2 separate regions of the Homo sapiens genome follow, and region 1 is linked to region 2. Evidence: promoter capture Hi-C in 16 types of primary human blood cells and fetal thymus (Javierre and others, 2016). All regions are on one chromosome and are shown on one strand. The core of a region is centred on a gene start or on the middle of the fragment in contact, and the rest is flanking DNA. Distances in the headings are between cores, read along the strand shown.

Region 1 (7,380 bases), core at 2,611-5,110, 370 kb before region 2:
TTTGTCTTTTAATTGTTGAATTGTATTTTTGTATGTTCTAGATGCAATTCCTTCATATGATCTGCAGATGTTTTCTCCAATTCTGTAAGTTGTCTTTTCAGTTTTTTGATGGTATCATCTGTAGCACAAAAGTTTCTAACTTAGCTATAGATTTTTTTTTCTTTTGTTATTTGTGCTTTTGTTATATCTAAGAAACCATTGCCTAGCCCAAAGTCACAAATATTCTGCATTTTCTTCTACGTGTTTTATAGTTTTAGCTCTTAAATTTAGATCTATAAGTAATTTTGAGTTAGTTTTTGTGTATGGTGTGAGTTAGAGGTCCACATTCCTTTCATATGTGAATATCCAATTTTTCATCATTATTTGTTGAAAAGGCTATTTCTTGGCACCCTGGTTGAAAAAAAACAATTGATCATAAATCTATGGGTTTCTGAAATTTTAATTATGTGGCAATTGATTGTTAAAAATCTAAAACTAAAAAACTACAGAAACAAAAACTGGAGAAAATTTTGGTCGTCCATTAGGCAAAAAAAAATTTAGATATGATACCAAAACACAATCCTAAAAAGGACAAATTGATATTTTGGACTTCATAAAAATTGAAAATCTCTGCTATTCAAAAGAAACTATTAAGAATATGAAAAGGTAAGCCACAGAATAGGAGAATATTTTTGCAAAGCTCATATTTGATAAAAGACTTCTATCAATAATGTATAACACCCAGCACTTTGGGAGGCCAAGGTGGGTAGGTCACTTGAGGTCAGGAGTTCAAGACCAGCCTGGCCAACATGGTGAGACCCTGTCTCTTCTAAAAATACAAAAAATTAGCCGGCATAGTGGCACGCCGGTAATCCCAGCTACTCAGGAGGCTTAGGCAGGAGAATTGCTTGAACCTGGGAGGTGGAGTTTGCAGTGAGCTGAGATCGCACCACTACACTACAGCCTGGGCAACAGAGAGAGACTCTGTCTCAAAAATATGTATATACATATATATACACATACATGTATATAGTTTTATATATAACATATATTTTGTTTTATATATAAGTATATTTTTATATATATAACATATATTTTGTTTTATATATAAGTATATTTTATATAGATAACATATGTATTGTTATATACATATTTTTAAAAAACTCTCAAAACCAAAGTTTAAAAAAATCCAATTTTATAAATAGGCAAAGATTTGAACACATATTTCACCAAATAAGTACATGAAAAGACACTTGACCTCATGAAGTGCAAATTAAACCCACAGAGAGGTACCTCTTCACACCTATTAGAATCAATAGAATTAAAAATACTGGGCTGGGTGCAGTGGCTCATGCTTGTAATCCCAGCACTTTGGGAGGCTGAGGTGGCAGATCACTTGAGGCCAGGAGTTCGAGAATAGCCTGGCCATCATGGTGAAACCCCGTTGCTACTAAAAATACAAAAATTAGTCGAGCATGGTGGCAGGCGCCTGTAATCCCAGCTACTTGGGAGGCTGAGGCAGGAGAATCTCTTGAACCCGGGAGGCAGAGGTTGCAGTGAGCCGAGATCATGCCATTGCAATCCAGCCTGGGCAACAAGAGCGAAGCTCCGTCTCAAAAAAAAAAAAAAAAAAAAAGAGACTGGCCGTACGAAGTATTGGTGAGGATGTGAAGGAATTAGAATTCCCATTCACTGCGGGTGAGGATATATAATGGCACAGCCATTTCAAAAGCAGTTTGGAAGTTTCTTAAATGCTTAATATTAATATAGCTATCACGTAACAGAAACATTCCACTCAGATATTTACCCAAGAAAAATGAAATATATGTCTGCAAAAGACTTGTGCATGAGCGTTCATAGCAGCTTCATTTGGAATAGCCCTAGATTGGAAACAACCCAAATGTCCACCAACAGGGGAATGAGTAAGCAAATTGTGGTATATACATTCAATGGAATATTACCCATCAATAAAAAGGAATGGATTATTGAGACAGTCAACATCTTAGGTGAATCTTAAAATAATTACACTCAGTGGAAAAAGCCAGACAAAGAGGAAACACACAGCTAGACCAAAAAAAATACTATAGGATTGCATTTATTTAAAACTTTAGAAAATGCATACTAAACCATAATGACAGAAAGAACAGTGATTACTTGGAAATAATGGAATGATGGAGTGGGGAGAGATGGTCCATTTGGAGACAATTTTTTGTATATGAGATAGACATGATACAGATTGTGAGACCTGAGTTTAAGTATTTGCTGTTGTTGTCATTTTGCATAGGACTATCCAAATGGTGCTGGTACAATTGTTTTCCTATGCAAAACAACAACAGTAACAACAAATACTCAAATTCAGGTCTCACAATTGTATCATGAGATATGGGAAGAATGAATTTCAGAGGGGTACAAGGAAAATTTTTGGAGTGATAGATGACTTTGAAGTGATTGTGGTGATGGTTTTATGAGTGTATTCATAAGCCAAAACTTACCAAATCATACACTTAATATATGTGCATTTTATTGTATGTCAATCACATGTTAATGAAGCCATTTTTAAAATTACGTATGTGTTGATCATGTAAAATGGTGCAGCCACTTTGGCAAACAGTTGAGCGGTTCCTCAGAAAGCTAAATGTGGAGTTGCCATCTAACCCAGAAATTCCACCTTTCCATATCGGCTCAGAAGAAATAAAAACATATGTGCATACTCAGAAATAAACTCGTGCATGAATCTCCATAATAGCCTTTTTTTTTTTTGAGACGGAGTCTCACTCTGTCACCCAGGCTAGAGTGAAATGGTGCAATCTCGGCTCACTGCAACCTCCGTCTCCTGGGTTCAAGCAATTCTCCTGCCTCAGTCTCCTGAGTAGCTGGGATTACAGGCATGTGCCACCACACCAGGCTACTTTTGCATTTTTAGTAGAGATGGGGTTTCTCCATGTTGGTCAGGCTGGTCTCGAACTTCTGACCTCAGATGATCCACCCGCTTCAGCCTCCCAAAGTGCTGGGATTACAGGCATGAGCCACCATGTCCGGCCTGAATATTTGCTCATTTTAAACATAGGACAAATGTGGTGGCCAGGCATGGTGGCTCACACCTGTAATCACAGCACTGTGGGAGGCCGAGACAGGTGAATTGCTTGAGCCCAGGAGTTCAAGACCAGCCCAGGCAACATGGTGAAACACTGTCTCTACAAAAAATACAAAAATTAGCCAGATGTGGTGGCATGCGCCTGTAGTCCCAGCTACTCAGGAGGCTGAAGTGGGAGGATCACCTGAGCCCAGGAGGTTGAGGCTGCAGTGAGCTGTGATTGCACCAGTACCCTCCAGACTGGGCAACAGATCAAGACTCTGTCTCAAAAAAAAAAAAAAAAAAATACACACACACACACACACACACACACACACACACACACACACACACAGTGATTTTTTTGATGCCATGCTTTTTTTTTTTTTTTTTTTTTTGAGACGGAGTTTCGCTCTTGTTGCCCAGGCTAGAGATCTCAGCTAACTGCAACCTCTGCCTTCCGGGTTCAAGCAATTGTCCTGCCTCAGCCTCCCTAGTAGCTGGGATTACACGCACCTGCCACCATGCCCAGCTAATTTTTTGTATGTTTAGTAGAGACGGGGTTCACCATGTTGGCCAAGCTGGTCTCGATCTCCTGACCTCGGGCAATCGATCCGCCTCAGCCTCCCAAAGTTCTGGGATTACAGGTGTGAGCCACCATGCCCAGCTGATGCCATGCTTTCTTAAAATATCATGTGTAAAAGCTTTTAAATAGTCTATTTACAGTTGCTAAGTAATATTTAAGTTCTCTAAAGTCAACTTGAATGTACAAATTACTTTCAAGTCTTGGACAGTTTTTGCCTGTGAGGACTTCCCCATAATCACTAAGAACCTCAGCCCTACTCTGCCCTTGACCTCAGAGTTTCCTTGCCCTCTTGTCGGATTGCTGCCTTGAGAAAGTTCAGACAGAAGCAAGCTTTCTAATCAAGTGCCACCTAATGGTGTGTCAAAATTTGGCTGCCTCAAGTCTTAAATGCACAAATGAATTTTACTGAGTTTGAGGCCAGAATCAAGGACTTATGGTTAGAGGCTGAATGCATGATGGCTGTGTGAATTTGGGGCCTGATGGTGTCTGGCAGTTCATTTTTTCCAAAAGGATGGAGCTGTCTTCTATTTCCTCTTAAATGGAAAAAATTGGCCAGGCAAGTTGGCTCATGCCAGTAATCCCAACACTTTGGCTGGAGGATTGCTTGAGCCCAGGAATTCAAGACTAGCCTGGGCAACATAGGGAGACCCCATCTCTACAAAAAATACAAAAATTAGCCAGGCGTGGTGGCATGTGCCTGTATTAGTCCTAGCTCCTTGGGAGGCTGAGGTGGGAGGGTCTCTTGAGCTTGGAAGGAAGAGGTTGCAGTGAGCCGTGATAAGGAAGAGGTTGCAGTGAGCCGTGATTGCACCACTGCACTCCAGATGGGTGACAGAGGGAAATCCTGTCTCAAAAATAAAATAAAAACATAAAGGGAAAAAAATTATCCTAAAATATTCTATATGGAAAACAAAGAGATAAAAGCTCTGACAGGCATAATGGTCCCACAAAGATCCATGTCCCAATCCCTGCAACCTGTAAGTACATTATGTAACATGCAAAAGGGCCATTGCAGATGTAATTAAGGTGACAGTTCTTAAAATACAGAGATTATTCTGGGTGATCCAGTGAGCCCAGTCTAATCATGTGAGCCTTTAAAAGCAGAGAACTTTCTCCTGCAGGAGGCAGGAGAGATAAGGCAGAAGTCAGAGAGATTCAACGCTTGAGAAGGAGTTAGTGAGCCTTTGCTGGCTTTGAAGGTGAAGGGGCAACGTGACCAGGCGCACAGGAAACCTCAAGAGGCTCAAGGCCAACAGAAAGGAAACGGGACCTCAGCCCTAGCACCACAAGGAGCTGAATTTGACCAACAGCCTGAATAAGCTTGTTAGCAGTTTCCTTCCCAGAGCCTCCAGGAAGTAACAAAGCCCTGCTGCCACCTTGATTTCAGCATTTAGAGACCCTAAGGACAGTACCTTGCCAAGCCCACCCACCAGACTTCTGACTACAGAACTGTGAGAGGCCAGGCGCGGTGGCTCACGTCTGTAACCCCCACATTTTGGGAGGACAAAGCGGGGGAGTAACTTGAGGTCAGGAGTTTGAAACCAGCCTGGGCAACCTGTCTCTATTTATAAAAATCGTTTGTGCGTGTAGAACTGTGAGATAATAAATGGGTGCTGTTTTAAGCTACTAAGTTTGTGGCAATCTGTTACACAGCAATAGAAAACTAATATATGAGCTGCTTGCAAGTAGAGACCCCATGTACTTAAAAGGTTCTCAGATAAGTAAGAGGAATGATTCTTAAATTTTAAAGTTGGGGCTGGGCACGGTGGCTCACATCTGTAATTCCAGCACTTTGGAAGGCTGAGGGAGACAGATCACTTGAGCCCAGAGGTTCAAGACCAGCCTGGCCAACATGGCTAAACCCCGTCTCTGCAAAAAATACAAAAATTAGCCAGGCGTGGTGGTGTACACCTGTAACCTCAGCTACTCTGGGGGCTGAGGCAGGAGGATTGGTTGAACCCCAGAGGCAGAGGTCGCAGTGAGCCAAGATTGCACCACTGCACTCCAGCCTGGGCGACAGAGTGAGAACTGGTCTTGAAAAAAAAAAAATTGGAAGACACATTTAGGGATATAAATAAAAACATGATGGGAGGTATTATATTAGATCACAGAATCAGGACTTTGGGGCTCACATGTTGGCCCTGATGTTGCACTCTGCCGTGGACATGGAACTGGCCTGACAGATTCAGCTATAGTTATAGAAATTCAGAAAGACACAAAGGCTGAAGACAAGTGGGAGATATGGAGCTCTTATTTGTGTCGGCTATCTGCAGGTTCTGTGAGACGGGAACAGTAATGGTGCTGTGTTTTGCCCTCAGCTTGCTGTCACTGGAGTTTTCTACCTACCTTGTACAAAGCCAATCCGTTATCCCCTGCCTCGCAGCATCAGTCCAGTCCTGCACTCGCCAGGAGTATCAAACAGCTGGAAGATGAGGGCACACTTTTCCTCCCTGGGAAAAAAGTCAGTCCTTTCAAGAAGTGAACATACAAGGCCGCTGGTCCCCTTTGAGGGGACAGGACCAAAACAAGAAAGTCATGTCTTGTCATCTGGTGTCTTGTTGTGTAAACCTCCATTCTATCCCATTTCCATAAATTCTTTCAAAGGTTTGAGATGTAGGACAACTGGGGCCTTTTCTCAGTTCGAGTCTTCTAGTTTGAACATTATAATTTAATGTGATTGTTAAGGAGTAAGAATGAAACAATTCCAATGCTACATAAAATAGAGAAATAACGGAAAGTTTCCAGTTTACTTCACAAGCTAACATAACCCTTCCACCAAAACCAGATACATGCACACGTGCGCAAACACACACACACACACACACACACACACCTCAAGCCAGACAGCTTAGTCTCACTTAGGCTATTTATATGGAATTTATAAACACACATCCTAAATGGAATACTAGCAAATTTAATTCATTAGTACAATATACTAAAATAATATTTCATACCCAAGCAGAACCTGTTCCAGAAATGCAAGGATGATCAATATTTTAGAAATGATCAATAGTATATATAGACCGTGTCTGTTTTGTACACTAGTATGGTCCTTGTGTCTGGCACAGTGCCTGGCACACAGTAGCATATAAGTATTTGTTGAGTGACTGAATATTACTATTAATAAGCAGTTCGAAAATAAAATAAGAAGAAAAAGATCTGATGCAAGTACAAATTATAGCAAATATACACGTGTTTGTGTGTTATGTATGTATACACACATCATACATATTCCATACATATACATCTATGTATACATGTATATATGTGTATATGTGTATATATGTATGCATATATACATAAATACATATACATGTGTATATGCATACATATGTGTATATACACATGTGTGCATGCATACGTGTATGTATGTGTATATATGCATATGCACATACATGTGTGCATATGTGTGTATATACATATGTACATGCACATATACATGCATGCACACGCATGTATATGTGTGTATATGCACACACACATATTTCACCCAAGAATAAACTTTTAAAAATGTATATAAGATCTGAATGAAGAATAGAGCAAAAGTTTGCCAAGGTACATAACAGAAGATAAATAAATGCGCAACATGTCACATACCTGTGTGAGAAAAGGCAATAATAAAAGATGTCAGTTCTTTTCAAACTAATTAATAAATGAAATGCAGTGTCCATTAAAATCTCAAAGAGATTTTGGGAGAGACGAGTCAGTAAATTGTTGCAGAAGAAAAGAAATATGAGGGGAT
Region 2 (7,239 bases), core at 4,584-7,083:
GTGGCAGAGCGGCTCACGCCCACCACACAGTGCACCAGGACCTTGGCTGAGGAAGACATCCTGGTGAAAAACCCTGTCCCACACACCGGCCCACCCACGGGCTGGGATGGGGACCCAAGTTCCTTTCCTGACCCTGCCTTGGGTGCACTCTGTGATCCTGAGCAAGTCACTCAGCCTTTATGGACCTCAGTTTCCTGATCGGTAAAATGGGTAGATCAACACCTGTTCTGCCTACCCTTGGGATAGGGTCCGAATTTCTTTTTTCTTTTCTTTCTTTTCTTTTTTTTTTTTTTTTTTTTAGTAGAGACAAAGTCTCACTATGTTGCCCAGGCTGGTCTTGAACTCCTGAACTTAAGTGATTCTCCCACCTTGGCCTCCCAAAGTGTTGGGATTACAGGCGTGAGACACCGCTCCTGGCCTCCAAACCTTTTTAACACTTCAAGAGCTGGCCCCTGTCGCCTCATCTCAGATTGTCCCTCCCCCACCTTCAGCTCGAGAAACATGGAGGAACTTGCAGTTCCTTGAGGCTGCCATGGTTTCTGACCTCCAGCCTTACCACATGCTATTCCAAATACCTGCAAATTGTTTCCCCTGGTCTCGGTCTGACTAACTTCCACTACTCATCCACCAGGTTTTGGCTGAGACACGGCTTCCTCCACAGGCTTTCTTGACCGCTCAAAGTATTGCTTGAATCACAAAGCAGCTCATCTTTTTTGCATATTACCCATGGATACCTTTGTAGAGGGAAGTCCCCCCACCTTCCCGATCCTCTGGGCTTAGCACCCCCGCCGTGTGCTCCCAGAGCCCTCCACACTGGCCCACTCTTATGAGTAGCTCTCACTATACTATTCGCAATTTGGCTGTCTTTCCACCAGTTCCAAGAGGGCAGGGATCCTGCTTCTTAAAGTCTGGATTCCCAGTATTTAGCTCAGTGCCAGGCACGTAGTGGATACTCAGTAAATAGCTGGTGAATGAATGGATAAATAGCAAAAGAATGTCAAAGTGTGTTGGATACTAAAAAGTCATGTGAGCTGTAATCTTGTCATTCCTGTCACATAGATGAGGAAACTGAAGTCCAGAAAGGGACACTGGCTTGCCCAGGGTCACACAGTGAGGGACACAGCTGTCTTCTAGGATGGACACAAAGCCAGGACACCAGCCTCCCTGGGCTCCTATGCTGTATCCTGAGTATTTGAAGATATATTTCTTTTCTAGTTAAAAGTACTTTGGGGGCCGGGTGCGGTGGCTCATGCCTATAATCCCAGCACTTTGGGAGGCCGAGGCAGACAGATCACTTGAGGTTAGGAGTTCGAGACCAGCCTCGCCAACATGGTGAAACCCTGTCTCTGCTAAAATACAAAAATTAGCCGGGTATGGTGGCGGATGCCTGTAGTCCCAGCTACTTGGGAGGCTGAGACACGAAAATTGCTTGAAGCCCAGAGGCAGAGGTTGAACCCAGGAGGCGGAGGAGCAGAGATCGCGCCACTGCACTCCAGCTTGGGTAGCACTGAGACTCTGTCTCAGAAAAAAAAAAAAAAGGAGAAAAAAAGTACTTTGGGGCAGACATCTAGGTACCAAATGGTGCTTTCCCAAAGTTGAGTGTTGCAGAGAAAGAGCTGTTCTGCTGTTTGGGAGAAATGGCTTTCAGCCTCAGGGTTGCTCCTAACTCATGGCATGACCTTGTATTCCAGGCCTCAGTTTCCCCATCTGGGAAGGAATCGGGTTCGACAAAATGCTGGAGCACTAAGCAGAGGACTTTTTTTTGGCGGGGGGGGATGGAGTTTCGCCCTTTTGCCCAGGCTAGAGTGAAGTGGCATGATCTCGGCTCACTGCAACCTCCGCCCCCCATGTTCAAGCAATTCTCCTGCCTCAGCCTCCAGAGTAGCTGAGATTATAGGTGGGTGCCACCATGCCCGGCTAATATTTGTATTTTTAGTAGAGACGAGGTTTCACCGTGTTGGCCAGGCTGGTCTTGAACTCCTGACCTCAGGCGATCCACCCACCTCGGCCTCCCAAAGTGCTAGGATTACAAGCATGAGCCACCACACACGGCCTAAGCAGAGGATTTTTAAAAAGCAGGGATGGGAGGGCACTGATGACTGAGAGGAAATGAGGCATCCTCCCCATGAATGAGCAAGATGGGATATGGGCTTGGACCCCAAGTCCTACCCCCAGGCGTGTTGAGGGCACGGTGGATGAAGTCAGCCGCAGAGGAGAAGTAGGCACTGATGTCAAAATCAGGGAGGTCGTGGGCTGGCACCCCCAGGTAGCTCACACTGCTGCCGTAGAAGTCAGGGCCGCCCTGACAGTAGAGGCCCTTGTGGGCGGCGTTCAGCACGTGGGTGATGCCCAGCTTCCACAGCTCAAAGCGGTTGTTTGCCGTGGCCCTGGGGAGGGCAGGAAGGGCACTTGATGCCGGCCAAGCCATGGGACCAGGAGGGAGGCTGTGCCTGGCCCCCTGCTGCAGAGGGACCGAGCCATTAGGGTCCAAAGAGAGTCCAACCCCAGCAAGCTCCAAGTGGGGTCTGACTCCACAGCCCTATACCCAGAGCCCCGCACTTTCTGGTGGCTGAGCCGGCGGTGTGTGTGTCGGGGGATCTTTAGACCCTCTTTGCTTCCTCAATGCATCTGTCCCTGCCTTGGCCAGGACAGGAAGGAAGGGATTGCTTCAGCCCTGGAACCTGGCTGCCCCTCCCTTCTTGCCCCATGTCCTCCCACGCATATCCGTCCTCTACTGGCTACCACCTCATACCTGCTTCTAACCTACAAATGTTTAGAGGCAACACCTTCTCTGATTCACCTTCAGTCAGGCTTCTCCACCGTCTGTATCCAGAGGAGGGAGGCTGGGCCCAGAAACAGGGGGCTCTCTGTCTACCTTATCTCATGCCCCAAATACTATTTCCTGGGCCTCTGCCTCTACACTTGACAGTTGTCCTGGAAATGTTTCCTGGAACTCCTGGGAGACTCCCTGCTTTCAGGCAGGCGAAGTCCCTGCTCTCCCTGGTGGCCATACCTGGTCACTGCACTGACCTCAGCACCCCCGGGGGTCCTGGAGAAGGTCCCTGGCCTGGGATGGTCAGAGCAGAGCTATTTCTCCTTGTTTCCACCCTCCTGTGTCTGGTAAAGCGACCAAGAACTGCCTCTCCACGTCCCCACCCCCATGCCCCTTGGCCAGCTACCACTCACGCATCTCCTATGAAAAGGTTGGGCCAAACTTCGTCCACACGGCTGCAAGAAGACTTCCCTGCCCGCAGGAGCTCCTCCAGCTCCAGGATGCTGGGGCAAGGCGTGGCTTTGTCCTCTCCCCCCAGCTCTGGGAGAGAGGTCTCAGCCATGGGCCAGCCCGCCCACCCCTCTGCCTCTGTGGTCACTCCTCTCTGCCTCTCCAGTGTCATTTCTCCTTCCCAGAGATTGACAGGGACAGGTGACAGAAGCAAGTGACTCAGCAAGTCACAGGGGCCTCTGGAGTGGACAAGACCTTTTCCTCCCCAAGCCTCCCCCCACCCCCAAACTCCATGAGAACACAGAATCAGAGAGACCTCTGCAAGTCAGCTACCACCCTGAACCTCAGTTTCTTCATCTGTAAAGTAAGGATAATCACACCTACCTCAGAGAATTTGAGGATTAGATGAAACAAAGGACATGCTGGGTCTGACACATAGTAGGTGCTTAGAAACATCTGTGGAATTAGTAGATGTAGAGCCCTGCCTAAGGCTATTAGGTTCTGAGGACTGAGTTAAAGTAGAGATCCAGGGTGCAGAGGAGGTGGCTGGTTCCAAGGATGAATGATAGAAAGAACTGAAAGAAGTGTACAGTCTAGGTGGGCCACAAATTGGGCAGGAGCTGGATTGGATGTCTGTTGGATGAGTCTCTGAATTACGGAGGTCAGGGACAGTTTTCTGAGTTGTAGAGTCAGAGAAATATGGGTAAGAGACATGGAGAGCTTCCTTTAAAGGGTGCCCACAAGATTCATGGGGGGAGGGGGAAGGTGTTTTTTTTTGTTTTGTTTTGTTTAGACAGGGTCTCACTCTGTCACCCAGGCTGGAGTGCAGTGGCATCATCTTGGCTCACTGCCACTACCACCTCCCAGGTTCAAGTGATTCTCCTGCTTTAGCTTCCTGAGTAGCTAGGATTACAGGCATGTGCCACCATGCCACACTAATTTTTGTGTTTTTAGTAGAGATGGGGTTTTGCCATGTTGGTCTGACTGGTCTTGAACTCCTACCTCAAGTGATCAGCCTGCCTCGGCCTCCCAAAGTACTGGGATTACAGGTGTGAGCCGCCGTGCCGGGCCAATGGGGCAAGGTTTGAACAATGGTCCTGTAGTGAAGATGGCTAACTTCTCAGAAGAGAAGGCTGAAGAGGGCCTTGTATGTCAAATGGGGAGACGGGAGGTGAGTGTTGCCCTAGACTTTGAGAGCCAAAGGGGCTAACTGTCATCAGAAACAGTGGGAGGGAGATTCCTCTGCCTATAAGGGCTTTGGGTCCCAAAATAGAAACTGAGAAAGGTCAACCTGTCCTTCTGCCAGAGCTGGTTATCAGCAAGAGAGATGAGATGTCTCACCCTCTCTCATGTGACTTCTCAGTGGCCCTAATGGAGCTGGGAAGGGTATGAGCTGCAGTGGGGAGGTTCCCAGCTGCCCTTGGCCTTAAGACCAGTTTGAAGGGAAAGGCCACACCAGGGCATCCCATGGAAGCAGTCTACACTCATGTCTATCCCATTCAGAACCATTGAAGTCGGCCCGGCACTGTGTGGGGAGGCAAGACCAAGGAGGGGCTCGTGTCCAGGTTACAGCTGGGTTTGGACTTGGTTTATGCCAATGCTAGACCTGGCTTGGGAGGAGACCTTCCCTCAGGGTGGTGCAGCATGGTGGAGTGAGGAAAATACAGGATCTGATGTTAGAGAGATTTGGGTTGGAATATCAGTTTGCAATATGTCAGGCAGTATGTTTCTTTACTTTTCTGTGCTATAGGATCCCCCTTGCAGAATTAGCACTAGGATTTTTTTTTTGAGATGGAGTTTGCTCTTGTCGCCCAGGCTGGAGTGCCATGGCGTGATCTCGGCTCATTGCAACCTCCATTTCCCGGGTTCAAGCGATTCTCCTGCCTCAGCCTCCCGAGTAGCTGGGATTACAGGTATGCACCACCACGCCCGGCTAATTTTTGTATTTTTAGTACAGACGAGGTTTCCCCATGCTGGCCAGGCTGGTCTCGAACTCCTGACCTCAGGTGATCCCGCCTCAGCCTCCCAAAGTGCTGGGATTACAGACGTGAGCCTCCGCTCCCGGCCTTAGCACAAGGATTAAATGAGATGTTTATATGGCGTTTGGCATAGACACTGTCAAAGAGTAAATGGGCAATAAATTATAACAATGATCATTGGGGGCTGGCTATTGGAGAAGAGCTGGCTCTCTCCAGAGGAATTCGGATTACCTCCTTCTAGGCCCTAACCCCATTTACTGATCCCACAGGCCCCGCCCCGGCTCCGCTAGCCCCGCTTCCTCCTGTCGCTTTGGCCTCCGGCATGACGCATGCGCCCTCGGGCTCCTCCGCGGCAGCATCTCGGTTCTCCTCTCGGGCCCATCTGGAGCCTCGCGTCTTTTCCAGTGTGGGCCCCGCCCCCTGCCGGTAGAACCCCGTCCCCGGCCGGTAGGGCCCCGCCTCCCGAAGCAGTTCCGGTTCGGCTCCGAGCAGCTGCCGGCGCGGCGGTGACGGCGGCCGGGACGATGCCTGCGCGCAGTCGCCACCGCCCCCGCCTCCACTCCGGCTCCCCGCCCCGGGCTCCGCCCCCGCCGCTTGAGGCGCTTCACTCCGGCGAGGCGGGGAGGGCCCCGGACTCCGACGGCGGCTCGGACGCCGACTCGGAGGTGGGTCCGGGGAGCCCGACTCGGACCGCGGAGGTGAGCGGGAGCTGAGGCTGAGGAGAGGGGAGCTTGGGGGGCGCCTGCTGCCAAGGGTGAGTGGGGAGTCTGGGATGGAGCCGGGGGCTGCCGAGGGACCGCGACCTGGAGGGGCCCCGGGGAGACGGTTGAGGGAACCGGGATAGTCAGCTCTGGAATGGAATCTGAAGCAAATGGAGGTTGTCGAACTGAGGGCCTGAAGGCTGAGGGATAAGTGGAGGCCGAGGAACGAGAGGGAGAGAGCGAGAGGGGGAGGCTTGAAGAGCCCAGAGCTTGGGGGCTTTTGAAAGCTGCGCAGTGGGGGAAAAAGATCGAAGGTCCTGCGGGAATGTGGACCCGGAAGAAGAGATGCTCTGGGTTTGGCAGCGGGGATGAGGAGTCAGAGGAGCAAGACCTGGGCCGGTGTTCCCTTCCCAGGGCGAGGGAGGGCGATCGGGGCTGGGACTGGAGCCCTCTCATGGGGTTCTCCTCTTACGGAGCCCTCTTATCCGCCTCCCACCCCGGGTGGGGCTGGTGGTGATGGAGGGCAGGATTTAGGTTTGACTAGAAGGAGGAGGGCTGTTGGATGGGAAATCGTCTGGCCTCAAGGGGTGAGGGAGGCACTGAAAAAGAGAAGTGTGGTCAAGAAAGAAAAGGAGCCCTTGGGGATCTAATTTTGGGCTTTGGCATTTTTACAGGTGCCTTTTAAAACATCAAAGATCACTAGGGCAATGTACTTGGATCGTGGGGCTTTCTCGTTCGTGCACAGTGGATCATTTTAAGAATCTTGGGTGGAAGGGGCGGTGTGAATCACTGATTTGCCTAAAGGACTGGGGGAAGTAGTGGAGAGGAAGTGATGTTTGAAGAAGGTAGTGGAAGACGTGATTCTGAAAATGAAGATATCATTTGGATTTATTGACAGTAATGGTGTCCTTTTTTTCATTGTAATTTTTTCGTAGCTAAGTTTAAATACCAGACATGTTAAGATCCTAAAAATTTACTATATTACCTTTAAGTTTTAAAAACTTGAAACAAGACTTTGGATACTCAGATTTTAAAAATTAAACTTGAAACAAGAATTTGGACACTTGGATTTTACAGATACTCAACATGGACTGGTTCCACTTTCAAAGTTTTAAGTTGACACATGTATTTGCCACATAGTAAATGTATGGTCAATGCAAGTTTCTGGGTGAAGGGGGCACAGTGAACTTGCCACAGTCTAGGCGCAATACCAAATCTTCCTCTCACTGATAACCCCAGGATTGGACTTATCTCTTGAAAATTGGAGAGGTACCTTTGACTGATTGGCAAAACCAATATTGAAATACTATTTTGCAGGTATTGTGTGAATAGTATT

The links. The method cuts DNA at HindIII sites, captures the fragments that hold promoters and counts their contacts. A CHiCAGO score of 5 or more calls a contact.
Region 1: a fragment that was not itself captured here is called in contact with the fragment with the promoter of SAMD8 in region 2 in 8 of 17 cell types (M0 macrophages, total B cells, megakaryocytes and 5 more); the score reaches 8.2 in M0 macrophages.

What each region holds. Positions count from the first base shown.
Region 1 is chr10:74,734,312-74,741,691 of GRCh38, forward strand. No RefSeq gene overlaps it. Among named protein-coding and RNA genes, the nearest start is that of KAT6B, 89 kb to the right of the region's middle. RefSeq lists an enhancer at 5,010-5,099. The HindIII fragment of the contact is 212 bases long and covers 3,755-3,966 here.
Region 2 is chr10:75,105,823-75,113,061 of GRCh38, forward strand. SAMD8 (sterile alpha motif domain containing 8) reads left to right here and starts at 5,834. Exons shown (of 6, transcript NM_001174156.2): 1 at 5,834-5,900. DUSP13A (dual specificity phosphatase 13A) reads right to left here and starts at 3,335. Exons shown (of 3, transcript NM_001007271.3): 1 at 3,187-3,335; 2 at 2,170-2,387; 3 at 1-46. The coding sequence starts at 3,335. It also overlaps a transcript of DUSP13B not described here. RefSeq lists enhancers at 155-998, 720-769, 4,644-5,593, 5,594-6,542 and a silencer at 5,581-5,920. The HindIII fragment of the contact is 16,308 bases long and covers 1-7,239 here.